Regions from separate parts of the Homo sapiens genome. Here region 2 is linked to region 1. Evidence: promoter capture Hi-C in 16 types of primary human blood cells and fetal thymus (Javierre and others, 2016). All regions are on one chromosome and are shown on one strand. Each heading gives the region's core, a stretch centred on a gene start or on the middle of the fragment in contact. The rest is flanking DNA. Distances are from core to core; before and after follow the strand shown. Region 1 holds the start of TERF1 (telomeric repeat binding factor 1). Region 2 has its middle 220 kb from the start of KCNB2.

Region 1 (2,700 bases), core at 126-2,625:
GCCCGCCTCAGCCTCCCAAAGTGCTGGGATTACAGGTGTGAGCCACTGCGCCCGGCTGTTTTAAACTCTTTACATTTACCAAGCCCTTTAATCGTGCAGGTATTATTATTATTCACATTATACGGACAAGAAAACTGACACGTAATTTACCCAAGGTCACACAGCTAGTGAGTAACTGGTAGGGAATATTCCAACCTAAGCATTCTTAATACTAGAATACAGTGCCTTAGTTACTCAACACTTAAACTGTACCACCTTAAAGACAATAACAAGAAGTGTGTGAAAATGTGGAAAGGCTTTGATGATGCTGGATGCGTTATAAACAGAAAGGCTTTTAAAATAAACTTTTTATTCAATTATGACACACATACTGAAAAGTGCATAAACGATGTTCAGTGAATTTTCATAAAGTGAACCCACATCAAGGAACAGAAAACGGAGCCAGGCGTTGTGGCTCAGGCCTGTAAACCCAGCACTTTGGCAGGAGGATAACTTGAAGCCAGGAGTTGGAGACCAGCCTGAGCAACAGAGCGAAATCCTGTCTCAAAGGAAAAAAAAAAAACAAACAAAAAACAAAAACAATAACCAGACCACCCATCCCCATTTAGAATTTCTTTTTGTGCTAAGTTTCAAAATTCAAAATAAGCATTCACTTGTTTTCTACAAACTGCATTCTATAGTCGATCTCAAACCTTGATTGAGATACATTTCCATTATAGTATACTCTTTCTAGAGCACTGATCTCAAAATGTGGTGCCCAGCCAAGTAGCGTTGGACTTTCAAATTCAAGGATCCCAAGCTAGACCAGCAGAACAGGAATTCTGGGAGTGGAGCCCGGCAATTTGTGTTTTAGCAAGCCCCCAGGCTGATTCTGATGCATCTTAAGGTTGGAGAAGCATGGATATTGTCAGTTGTAATAGTTGTTGTTCGTGATCACGTAGTAACTGTTAGATGAAAACTAGGGTTTAAAAGTGTTACGCTTGTCTAATAGTGACAAGTTCTCATTACCCATCTCTTTCTGAAATAGGCTGCAGGCAAATGCGTTTTCATTTTAAATAACCGTGTTGTTGTTCCAGTCAAGGTTGCATTTTACAAGGAATAAGGAAGATAAAGCTGCCTCCTCCTATCCTAATCTCGCTCCTCGCTCAGTATGGAGTCGTCCGGTTTACCTACAAAGCCCTGCCCTAGACTGGCGGCAAATTCAACGCCCAGAGGCAGGAACAGGTGTCGGCCAATCAGAAGCCGGAACAGGTGTCGGCCAATCAGAAGCCAGGCTTGAACCGCTCGCCCATGTCCCGCCGGCGGAAGAGACTCTCCGCGGCCACGCCCCGAGCCCTCGAATGCGAGCCAATCGTTGCTCGGCGCCTGAAGGGGCAGTACCCAAGCGAGCCATTTAACATGGCGGAGGATGTTTCCTCAGCGGCCCCGAGCCCGCGGGGCTGTGCGGATGGTAGGGATGCCGACCCTACTGAGGAGCAGATGGCAGAAACAGAGAGAAACGACGAGGAGCAGTTCGAATGCCAGGAACTGCTCGAGTGCCAGGTGCAGGTGGGGGCCCCCGAGGAGGAGGAGGAGGAGGAGGAGGACGCGGGCCTGGTGGCCGAGGCCGAGGCCGTGGCTGCCGGCTGGATGCTCGATTTCCTCTGCCTCTCTCTTTGCCGAGCTTTCCGCGACGGCCGCTCCGAGGACTTCCGCAGGACCCGCAACAGCGCAGAGGGTGAGTGCAGACCGCGTCCGGGCCGGGACTACGCGGGGGGCGGATGCGGGCTCCGTGGTGCGCGGCAGAGGGCTGGTTCCCTACGTCGCCGAGGGAGGGGCTGCTGCGGCCGATTAGCTGGGAGTCCGAGGCTCCGGGCTGAACTTTGTTCGAATCCCGGTTCGCCCGTTGTCAGCACCTGAGTTTTTCTCAGATTGATTTCCTCTTCGATAAAATGAAAATAAGACCCTGTTTAGGTTTGATGCAAGCATTAAATGAGTTAAAATGTATACAGTTCCACTCAACCCAGTACCTTTGTCTCTTTTGGCGCTTTCTACTCAGGTATTCCTGTAGTAATATTCAGCAGTCCCTGTGGCCTCCAGTAACCCCCGAGGCATCAGTGTTTTATGTTAATTTGTGAGCTATTAAATCTCATTTGGCCTGCTGGCTCTACAGCAGTTACTTTTATTCTGTGTAGTCTCAGAATAAAAGTAAATGTTGGCCACATGCCTGCAAGTCCCAGCTACTTGGGAGCCTGAGGTGGGAGGATCGCTTGAACCCAAGAGGCAGAGGTTGCAGTGAGTCGAGATCGTGCCACTACAGTCCTGCCTGGGTAACAGAGTGATACCCTGTATGAATAAATAAATGAATGAATGAAACTGTTCATGAAATCTGCTGCACCCCGCCCCCGTCCCAAGATGGGGTCTCACTGTCACCCAGGCTGGAGAGTGTAGTGGCGCCATCACAGCTCACTGCAGGCTCGACCTCCTCAGGCTCAGGTATCCTCCCGCTTCAGCTTCTGGAGTAGCTGGGTCTGCAGGCGTGCACCACCACCCGCAGCTGTAAGATTACAGGTATGAGCCACCGCGCCTGGCCTAGTGTAGCTTTTTGAAAAACAACAGAAAGATGTTCTGGTACTTCATTCATAGTTGGCGCTAAAATTACTGTGCAAGTATATATTTATAATACTATAATTATGCTATTTAATAGAATTCTTAGACATT
Region 2 (2,815 bases), core at 91-2,590, 690 kb before region 1:
GCTCTGGCAGAAGCCAGCTACCAGGTCATGAAGAGTCCCAAGGAAGAGCCTACATGGCAAGGATCTAAACACTCCAGACAACAACCATGTGCATGACCTTAGAAATGAATCCTTCAGCTCCTGTCCAGCCTTCAGATGTGGATTAGTCCATTCTCACACTGCTATAAAGAATTACCTAAGACTGCGTAATTTTTGAAGAAAAGAGCTCGAGCTGACTCACAATTCTGCAGGCTGTACATTCCATGCATACTCCTGCATGCCTGGGAGCCTTCAGGAAATTTGCAATCATTATGGAAGGGGAAGGGGAAGCAAGCACATTTTACCATGGTGGAGCAGGAGACAGAGAGGGAAGAGGGAAGTGCTACAGCTTTTTAAACAATCTTGTGAGATCTTGTGAGAACTCATTCACTATCATGAGAACAGCAAGGGGGAATTCTGCCCACATGATCCAAGCACTTGCCACCAGGCGCATCATTCAACACTGGGAATTACAATTCAACATGAAATTTGGGTGGGGACATAGAGCCAAACTATGTCAAGATGACTGCAGCCTTGGCCAACATCTTGACTGCAATTTTATGAGAAGCCCTGAGCCAGAACTATCATTAAGCCACTTCTTGATTCTTGATTCTCAGAAACTGGTGAAAGATAATGTTTTTTCATTTTAAGCTCCTACATCTTGGGGTAATTTGCTATACAGGAATAGGTAAATAATGCACTTGTTATATTCACATATATAAATATTAGCTAATCTCCTTTCTTTTCATTACAATTTTATATTATGAGTCCTGTGGTGGTTTACTTAATAATTTGGACTCTTGGGTACAGAATAATCAGATGAGATTGTGCCTGAGCAAGAGATGAATAACATGATTGGTGGATCTTTGTATCTCAGCTTGTTTTTAAGAGGGGGTAAGACCATCTTCACTTGTACAAGGCTTAATTGCATCATACTAGGTGGAAGCATAAAGAGGGTGTTATTGCTGTCTGGAAGCTTAAATGTGGGTAAAGGCAGTGTTTGAATATTGACTAGCCAAATGGTTGGGCTGGGCTGGTTATTTTTCTGTTTGGTCTTAGCTCCCACACATTTCTATTCTTTGATCAATGCTGCTGGGCTTGGGAATTGAAAACTACATTTCCCAGATGCCTTTGCCAGCTGGCTTCCTGTTTGTTCTGCCAATGGGAGGCATTGGAGGAGACCAGAAAATAGAACCTGTGTGGTTCTTGCTCTGACAGTAGTGACAGTTGCCGGCAATGAAGGCAGTGCAAGAAGGGGTGGGCTGCTGTGAGTCCAGCAGCCTAGGAAGTGCACCACCTCTCTGGTGACTCTACTACCTTGGTGACCACTCTTTGATTCCAACGTTGTCAGAAAGAATAGCTTCTCAGCATTTCCAGTGCTGGCAGCTGCAGAGCTACCCACAGCACAAAAATCAAGTGCAACACATAGGTTCCAGTTAGGGGTACTAGCTGCTTTCTGACCTTTTACTCTCATTTCTCTCCCTTTTTAAAAAAATCCCTCTAGCATCCCCTACTTCTCCTTTTTGTTCTTCAGCCTTCCTAATCACTTTATAAGTCATTCACTATATTATATCTCTTCTAGTTTAAATCCTTAAAGTAGTTTACATTTTCCTAACGTAATAAGACTGACAGATTCTCAGGCTTCATGGAGATGCATTTTGGGAAACAACAAGCTTAAATATTCCGCAGAAGTTCCTCTTTATCTCTAAATATTTCAGAAATACATGAAACTATAGTATTTACCTTCATTTTTCTCTAGAAGGCCATGCATATGATCAAAGTTTTTTAACATCTGGAAACTAGTACAGTGCTAACACTTCTAGTAAGAACCAATGCAAAGCAATCCATGATCCAGAAACTAGTAATATGAAACATTTAACTCAGTACTTAAATATTCAACTAAAAGTAAAATGTTCTCATGCTGAGATACGTTTATCTTCAATATAATTATTTGCTTATTTAACTGGAAACTCGTGTCCTTGCGGCATGTTGTGTATTAACATAGTGTTTGTAGACATTTTCAAATTTTGTGGTATTTTTCCTTTTTTTTCTATTCTATGGTTTTTAGTGTGCTTCTAATGTATTAAATAAAGGAAGAAGTTGAGAATGAAAACATTGATGCAGAGATGCTTATTAATTGATAATTGATGAATGCTAATTGCTCCCTATCTGATCTGGCTTCTGGCAATCTCCAACTGCACCCCTACTACTAAGTGGTTCTGCAGCCACCCTGGCCTTCTTGCTAGTCCTCAAGTGCACTAATCTGTTCCCATCTCAGGAACTGTTCCCTCTGCCTGGAATGCTCCTCCCTGTATCTCTGTCTGCCCCACTCCTTCACATCATTACTGTCTTTGCTAAAATATTAACTATAAAGACAGCCTTTTCCTCTCCTCACATCCTGGCTGTCCAGATTGTCAACCCACCTAGTCCCTCTCCATTGGGCCTACTTTGCTTTTCCTCTCAGCACTTGTGTCTCCCTGAAATCATGTCCTGTAAATATATGCTTATTCTTTTACTCTCAGTCTTTCACTGAGTGTAAATTCTGTCAGGCCTAGAAAACTGTCTTTGTTTGCCACCTTATATCGTGTGCCTAGAACAGTGGGGCTTGGCATTTACATAGTCACAGTAAACATTGATTAAATCAATGTTTTGGTTCATACGTTTTCACTATTATGTATGTTTCATATTTTTTACCACTGCCAATTTTGGAGATTTAACATGCACTTTCAGCATTATATGTTTTAAGCAATACAGAGTGTGATGATTAATTGTATGTGTCAACTTGACTGGACCATGG

Evidence for each region. The method cuts DNA at HindIII sites, captures the fragments that hold promoters and counts their contacts. A CHiCAGO score of 5 or more calls a contact.
Region 2: a contact is called between a fragment that was not itself captured here and the fragment with the promoter of TERF1 in region 1, in 1 of 17 cell types (endothelial precursors). The highest score is 7.2, in endothelial precursors.

Annotation. Positions count from the first base shown.
Region 1 is chr8:73,007,489-73,010,188 of GRCh38, forward strand. TERF1 (telomeric repeat binding factor 1) reads left to right here and starts at 1,376. Exons shown (of 10, transcript NM_017489.3): 1 at 1,376-1,717. The coding sequence starts at 1,399. RefSeq lists silencers at 1,142-1,241, 1,272-1,321. The HindIII fragment of the contact is 9,695 bases long and covers 1-2,700 here.
Region 2 is chr8:72,315,517-72,318,331 of GRCh38, forward strand. No RefSeq gene overlaps it. Among named protein-coding and RNA genes, the nearest start is that of KCNB2, 220 kb to the right of the region's middle. RefSeq lists an enhancer at 1,275-1,324. The HindIII fragment of the contact is 697 bases long and covers 993-1,689 here.